Regions from separate parts of the Homo sapiens genome. Here region 2 is linked to region 1. The links are contacts of gene promoters, found by promoter capture Hi-C in human tissues and cell types (Jung and others, 2019). All regions are on one chromosome and are shown on one strand. The core of a region is centred on a gene start or on the middle of the fragment in contact, and the rest is flanking DNA. Distances in the headings are between cores, read along the strand shown.

The links. The method cuts DNA at HindIII sites, captures the fragments that hold promoters and counts their contacts. A contact is called where the count stands out against the background at its distance.
Region 2: a contact is called between a fragment that was not itself captured here and the fragment with the promoter of CDNF in region 1, in 1 of the 25 tissues and cell types used here (dorsolateral prefrontal cortex).

Annotation. Positions count from the first base shown.
Region 1 is chr10:14,835,443-14,839,503 of GRCh38, forward strand. It overlaps CDNF (cerebral dopamine neurotrophic factor), which reads right to left and starts at 2,595. Exons shown (of 4, transcript NM_001029954.3): 1 at 2,390-2,595. The coding sequence starts at 2,504. It overlaps HSPA14 (heat shock protein family A (Hsp70) member 14), which reads left to right and starts at 2,864. Exons shown (of 14, transcript NM_016299.4): 1 at 2,864-3,017. The coding sequence starts at 2,961. MSANTD7 (Myb/SANT DNA binding domain containing 7) reads left to right here and starts at 2,864. Exons shown (of 5, transcript NM_001378785.1): 1 at 2,864-3,017. RefSeq lists a silencer at 2,648-2,757 and an enhancer at 2,908-3,147. The HindIII fragment of the contact is 11,564 bases long and covers 1-4,061 here.
Region 2 is chr10:13,809,054-13,812,852 of GRCh38, forward strand. It overlaps FRMD4A (FERM domain containing 4A), which reads right to left. Exons shown (of 25, transcript NM_018027.5): 4 at 1,761-1,855. Among named protein-coding and RNA genes, the nearest start is that of FRMD4A-AS2, 180 kb to the right of the region's middle. The HindIII fragment of the contact is 4,303 bases long and covers 1-3,799 here.

The DNA of each region.
Region 1 (4,061 bases), core at 1,345-3,844:
GTCAATGGTGTCACACACCACAAAGAAGTCAAGGTAAGAAAGGAAACTCATTTTCTGGACTTACATGAAGAGAATAACCTCACCATAAATGCCCTAACAAATTAGTAGCTTCTTAAGTTTTCTGGGATGTCTTTATTGCTAAAATAACCTCAGATAGCCATACTTCTTTTATTTATATTGTGCTTTTATGTTTATTAAAGATAGTTTTATAAGTGAATCTATAATTATTTTAAAATAAAAAGTTATTTAAAATAGTCCCATAATATAATCCTTTAAAAGAGATTTGGAAATATTTATGTTTTTCCAGTAAACCTCACATTACCTAATAATAGGACTCACAGACTTGAATATCTACAGGGGCCAGGCAAGGAAAAAGAAGAGTTAAGCAATTTGAATCGGGGGCAGAGTAGGGGCGGCAAACTACTCAAAACCCAAGTCCTTTCTAAAAAGAGCAGCCAATAGCCAATTCTACTATACAGCCATAAGGCCAATCTTGCCAGGTCATCTGGTTTTTTGAGAAAAGCCAGAAATATGAATTTTTACATAAAATTTCCCAATTTTAAAATGTACCCAGTGAATTTAATTTTTTTCAAAATATTTTGTAAATGTAACGAAACATATCAATAGGTCCGAGACGGCTCAGGAACCATTCAGTTTTTTTGCCTTCGCTCTAGAGTATGTATAATATGGCATTTTAATCTTATACATTGAGAAGAAATTAAGTTGTAAATAAGAAAGGAGGCTGAGGAGGGAGGATCACTCATAAGCAGTAATAGAGCTGGATGCAGAATCTGGTTCTTTTAGTTACCAAACTGTTATGTCCTTCCTCTGCGATTACACAAGCTTCTTTACCTAACAAATGAAATATATAGACAGGTTAGTCAGACATGCAATAATCACAGCATGCTGTAATAAATTTAGGACAGACAGCATAAGCTTCCCATTTAATTAATCCAGATGCTGTCTCTCTTGAAACATTTATAAGTGGGAGCCCCAGATGAGTCATCAAATCAATTGTCTTTGCCTCACAAAGTCTGTTTTAAAAGTATAGGACACAATTATAGCATGGTTTGGAGCAAAATTATAACTTAGCTAAACAAATATCTTTATATCGAGTAATAACATGTAGATATTTTAAATTTCTGGAGAAAAGTTTAATTATTGCAGAGCTCATAGAAAGCCAGGCTCCAATTATTAACACTTTAAGGACTGGGCGCTGTGGCTCACGCCTGTAATCCCAGCACTTTGGGAGGCTGAGGCGGGCCGATCACCTGAGGCCAGGAGTTCAAGACCAGTCTGGCCAACATGGTGAAACTGCATCTCTATTAAAAATATAAAAATTAGTCAGGCGTGGTGGTGGTGCCTTTAGTACCAGCTACTTGGGAGGCTGAGGCAGGAGAATCGCTGGAACCCGATGATGGAGGCTGCAGTGAGCCAAGATTGTGCCACTGTACTCCGGCCTGGGCAACACAGTGAGACTGTCTCAAAACAAAAACAAAAACAAAAAACAAAACAACAAAACAAACAAAAACACAACTTTAGTACGACTATACCCATCCATTCACTCAACATATATGATGAACCTACAATTTCCTGTTCACTAGGGATATATTTTCCAGCTGAGGGCATATACATTTAAACTAATTATTTTCAGTAAAACATGGAGTGAGCGCTACAGGAGTCCAGAAGGAAGGGGCTAGCATAGCCACTTACCTTCTTTGCCTTTGCTAACAGATCTCTAAAGTGAAGTACGCTGATTTTGCAAAAACCAAAGTCTCAGAGCTAGGGGACTTGGTGGGATACAGACTCACGTATTCTGACTGCGAGTTCACAGCTGAGATACCGTGAACAAAAAGGAACCACTCTTTTGTATTCCTCTCTTTCCCAAGGAGTCAGTGTACTCCTTTGCAAAGCAATTTTCACCTACAGAGTCCTAACAAATATTAGCTATGTCCTCTGATTTAAGCTACTCAACTCAATGCCATGTTTTGTTTTCCTTTGGGGAGTCACCAACTAGCTTGGACTTGAAAGACGTCTTCTGTGCAAGGGGAGGCAAATCTTGCTGGTTGGAAGCAGCAGAATCAATCTGGCGCCAGTATCATCTGAATCTAGCATTCTTTGCACAAACTCTAATCCAAATACAAACCCACCAGCTTTTACTGCTGAAGTTTAATATTCACAGCAAAACCACAACGTGGCCTCACGTTACCACCAGGCCCGGCTTGAGCTTTTTACTCGAGCTGGGCTTGGGCGATCTAAAACGAGGGACAGGGCCTGCATTTCCTGGGCGGAATGTTATTTATAGCCAGGGCCAGGAGAAGCCAAAGCCGACAGCTGCTGCGCCGCAGCGCGGGGCCGCCGCCATGCAAGCAGTTGTCACACCGCTCACCTTCACAGTCGGCCCCTGGCCGCCCCCCGGCCTCCTGGCCCTGCGTCAGCACCGGGTGAGAGACCAAAAGCCCGGCGCAAAAGGCCACCACAGCAACTGGGCTCGCGCACCACATGCTGGGCCAGCAGCTTCAATCGCCTCCGCCACCCGCGCCCACCGCCCACCAAGCTGCCAAAGCGAGCTGAGCAGAATTCGAGGTTGGAAAGAATCTGCCAGTAGTTGCCAGGACAAATGACGCAACTGAACACAGAGTTTCCATTGGCTCTCAAGGAAGGGATAGGAAGGGGGCGGAGTGTAGGAGCCTTTTCCCGTCCCTCCCCGGTTGCGCGTGCGCACTGTGCAGTTTCCGCGGAGCGCAGAGACGCGCTGAAGCTACTCGCGGACTGCGCGTGAAGAAAGGCGGAACCTTCACGCTGATTGGCGGCGACGCGGGAGGCTGTAGCGGCCGACCGGACGCAGGGGGCTGGCGGGAACGTGAAGCTCCGCGGTGCCTGATGGGGCCGTTGGGCGGCCGGTAGCTGTTGCTGTTGGGGGACCCCCTCATTCCTGCCGCTGCCGTCCCTGCTGCCTCATGGCGGCCATCGGAGTTCACCTGGGCTGCACCTCAGCCTGTGTGGCCGTCTATAAGGTGAGGGGCTGCGGAGCTGGGCTAGGGCTTCATGACGGCCACCCGGTTTTCTGGCGCTGGGTCATCCACAGGCTTGAGAGCGGCGTGTCGCCGGCCTAGGGATGTCGTGGAGTGGCGTTGCCGCGAGGACACTCCGGAGCGAAGGGCCGGGCAGGCCCGGCCTCGCGCCTGGCGATTCCTCCGGAAAGTCGTCTACTCCGCGGCGGAGGCTCGCGGCGATGTAGACGCGCGGGGTCCCAGGGCGTCATGGCGGCGGGATGCCCGGAGGGGTCCCAGGGACGACGTAGCTGCAGGGTGCCCGGGGGGGTCCCGGAGACAGCGGGGCCGCTGGGTGTCCCGGGGGGTCCCGGGGACGGCGGGGCTGCGAGCATTTTGGGGGAGGTCACGGGGACGTCCTGGCCTCTGGATGCCGGAAGGGGTCTCGCTGACGTCAGGGCCTCAGGATTCCCGCGGGTGGGAGGTCCTGGGAAAGTTGTGGCCGCGAGGTACTTGGAGGCGGTGGTCTCTGGGACAGCAGGGCCGCAGAACGCGCTGAGCTGGGCCCGAACGTCTAGGTCCCGGAGGGGCGGGGAGGCTGCAGTCGAGCTGGGGCTGATGGTCCCGCAAAGCTGCCTGGCTGTGAAGCCAGTTGATGGTGCGTGGTCTACAGAGGTGGCCTTTCTGGAAGTGAGAGCCTGACAGGACTTGTGGCCTTTCTCTCATCAGTGGGGAGGCAGAAGAAACGATAATCATGAACTCCGTTGCCACTAGTCCCGCGTTTAAATGTCAAATGACTTGTTAGGAAAAGCCAAAGGGAATAATACTACTTCATTTGTAGAAATGGGAAGAAAGGGGCCCAGCGCGGTGGCTTACGCCTGTAATCCCAGCACTTTGGGAAGCCGAGGCAGGCGGATCACGTGAGGTTAGGAGTTCTAGACCAGCCTGGCTAACATGGTGAAACCCCGCCTCTACTAAAAATACTAAAAATTAGCCGGGAACGCCTGTAATCCCAGCTGCTCAGGAGGCTGAGGCATGAGAATGGCTTGAACCCGGGAGGCGGAAGTT
Region 2 (3,799 bases), core at 429-2,928, 1.0 Mb before region 1:
AGTGTACCAGCTTAGCTGGATGGGGAAGCTGAACTTGGGTGTGTGCACCCCCTGCTGTGACGTGTGGTTTTGGTGCTCTCAACCCTCCTGGGAGAAGAGTGACTTTCTACCTAGGTCCGATTCCTGCCAGTCAGTGCTGTTAGGGCAGTGATCTGAAATGTTCTGCAGACTCACATCATCTTCCCCTTCAGCCCAGGATCACACGTTCGTTTTTCAATTCTTGTTTATTCAAAAGGGAAGCCTAATCAGGCCTCCTCTAGAGTTCACGGGATCTTTTAGTAAACTTACGTGGGAAATGTGAACAATGGGGCTATGATTAATTGAAACTTAGGGTTTCCTTCTGATTAGTGAAAATAGTCTCAACAGCAATTTAAGTGGTTTACAGTGATTCTCAGGAGAAAGGGGAGAGAATAATCTACATTTGTAAAAGTAATTGTTCTACATGTGCATTTGTTTAAAAGCTTTTAAAAAAATTGCAGTGCTGGGTCCTTCCCCGCACAGCCCTGAACCTTTCCCAGCTGGGCTTACTTGGCCCTGCCTGCAATTCCTCCTGCCCACCGACGGCCACTCCCACCTGCATTCCAGTTCCCTGCAGGCTCCAGGACGAGGGGCCCACCTTGCTCCTCCCAGCTTTCTTGAGGAAGATGTGGCTTTGCTCCTGCTGCCTGCTCTCTGAACACACCACAGCCTGAAATGTCCCTGATTTACAGGGTGACCAGATGGTCCGGTTTGCCCAAGACAGTCCCAACGACACCCCCTTTTGTTCAGTGTCTCAATTTGGATAATAAGTCATAAGACCACCCCTTCCACTTGCATCTCACCAAGGCCAAGTGTAGCCATGTGCAGGGACACCTGGTTGCCTCTCTCACTGGCCCATGTGGATGCCCACCTGTTCTTGCTTCAGTGGCACCACCTGATTCCCAGGGCCTCGGCTCCCCTGTACTGTCTTGCCTGGCCACTAACCTAACACTGATCTATTAGTAGTTTAGGAAATCATCTCTGTATTTCTGAAGATCTGGAAGACAGAGAGAGAGAGAGAGAGTCTGTGTGTGTGTTTGTGACTGTACGTGTGTGCACAGAGGAAAGAGAATTATGAACTATTTTCTTAGAATAGCTCATTTTTATCTAGAAATCTATACAGGTATTCAGTATACTCTTTTGATAACAGTACCTTAAAAAGAAAATGGAAATTTTAGTAAAGATTTTCCTTACTTGTATTACACAACACCACTTTATAGAGCCAAACTGAAAAGACCCTTGAAAGCAAATATTCTTCTCATCAGATCAGTGATCTGAATTTTTTATTTTCATAGTCGCTTTATTTCAGTTTAGACACTGAAACTGCACAGGTTATTTTCATTTTGAATTTATCATCAAATTCACTTCCTGTTATTGTTATCCCAACAGTAGAGAGAAATGTTTCATTTCCAGAAGTTTTCATTTAACTTAAATAGAAAACAAACTCACATAGATCCACTTAAAAAAAAATAAACATTTCAGTCTGAACACAAACCTGCTTGATTATTAGAACTAGTTTACCTAATAATTTTATAATATTAGTATCACCCTAATTATATCCTTTGGCTGTACCAGGCATGACCACAAGGCCTTTGAAATTCAGATGATGAACTTGGACTGACCCCAGACCATGGGACCCAAGTGGTCTGCAGCTGATTTCGCTGCTAACAGCTGGAGTGGAGCAGTTTCGGGTTCTGCACTGACTCTCCCTTCGGGCTGTGAGGGCTCAAGGCAGTACTTACGTTTCATCTGTGAATGCTATTCCAAAGTACTCCTTTTCCTTCAGATTGAAGTGAGAAGCCACAAGGTCAAGAAGCTCCTTGGCCAACAGCTTGGGCTGCAAGAAGAATACAATGGAAGAAGGGTAAGTGATGAGAGACTGCTTTTCCTAAAATATGCAATCTCAGGTTTCCATAATTTTTTCAATGAAATGTCACAAAGCTCAAGTATTTTGAAGCAAATGATTTTTATAAACCCAAACAAATAGACAATGACACTGATGAGCACACAGCCAAGTCAAGGGTCATCAACAGATAGAGACCTTCTGTTTTGTTTCCTAGAAGGGTTTTTTTTTTTTTAATTGAGATGGAGTCTCGCTCTGTCATCCAGGCTGGAGTGCAGTGGCATGATCTTCGCTCACTGCAACCTCTGCCTCCCGGGTTCAAGCGATTCTCATGCCTCAGCCTCTGGGATTATAGGCATATGCCACCACGCATGGCTTTTTTTTTTTTTTTTGGTTTTAGGAAAGATGGGGTTTCACCATGTTGGCCAGGCTGGTCTCTAACTCCTGGCTTCAAGTGATCCACCTGCCTCAGCCTCCCAAAGTGCTGTGATTACAGACGTGCGCCATCACACCTGGCTAATTTTTGTATTTTTAGTAATCCCAGCTACTTGGGAGGCTGAGGAAGGAGAATCGCTTGAAACTGCAAGGCAGAGGTTGCAGTGAGCCAAGATCACGCCACTGCACTCCAGCCTGGGTGACAGAGTGAGACTCTGCCTCAAAAAAAAAAAAAAAGATATCTGCCAGTCTAAAGAAGCACACCAGAGCGTTAGGCATAAAGTCATGGTAGATGTTTGTATTGTTAACATGTTATTCACCTTGGTCTGTTACTACTGAAGTGACCACAGAACACCAGGCACTGAAGTGGGGGAGGGAGGAAAGGCTGTCTGATGCGGAAACAGGGCCGGAAGAGAAGAGTTATTTCTAAACTAGCTTCCAGGTCATGCATTTGAAAATACATTGCCTCTATGAAAATTACTCCATTCCAAGCACACTCACCAGATATTAGGAAAGTTATTTCATTATCTGTTGGTTTTTTTTTTTTTTTTTGAGATGGAGTCTCGCTCTGTCACCAGGCTGGTGTGCAGTAGTGCGATCTTGGCTCATTGCAACCTCTGCCTCCTGGGTTCAAGTGATTCTCTTGCCTCAGCCTCCCGAGTAGCTGGGACTACAGGTGCGTGCCACCATGCCCAACGAATTTTTGTATTTTTAGTAGAGACAGGGTTTCACCATGTTGTCCAGGATGGTCTCGATCTCTTGACCTCGTGATCTGCCTGCCTCGGCCTCCCAGTGTTGGGATTACAGGCATGAGCCACTGCACCTGGCCGACAGTTGGTTTCTTATTTCACTTTTTGGGTACTGCCATGGACTGAATTATATCTCCCCAAAATGCATGCGTTAAAGCTCTGACATCCAGTGGTATTTGGAAATGGGACCTTTGGGAGACAATTAGGTTTAAATGAGTTTATGAGGGTGGGGCCCCCAAGATGGGATTCGTGTCCTTATAAGAAGAGACACCAGAGAGCCTGCTTCCTCTCTCTGCCATGTGGGGCCAAAATGCAAAGGTGGCCCTCACCAGGAGCTAACCATGCTGGCACCCTGATATTGAAATGACTGTTTAATACAACAGACATTTATTTATTGAATGCCTACTATGTACAGGGCACTGCCCACATGCTGTAGGAGACAGAAAAATAAGCAAGGTGCAGCACAGGCCCATAGGGACCTTAGACTTTTAACAGGGACACGGAGTAAGAGCTAGCGCTGAGTTTAAAAAGCCAAAGAAGATGCTCCACCCTTTTCTGTCTCACTCCTGGGCTCCTGGGTGGCAGCCTCAGGGCCTAGATGACCATCAATTCACTGATGAAAACCACTTAAACTGAAAGAATGGGTTTGAAGCTTCCTCCCCAGCAGACAGGAATGGACAGGAGAACCCAACGTGATAAATCAATACCACCTCATAGTCTATACTTCCATTCATACTGAATTTTGAAAAAGTGA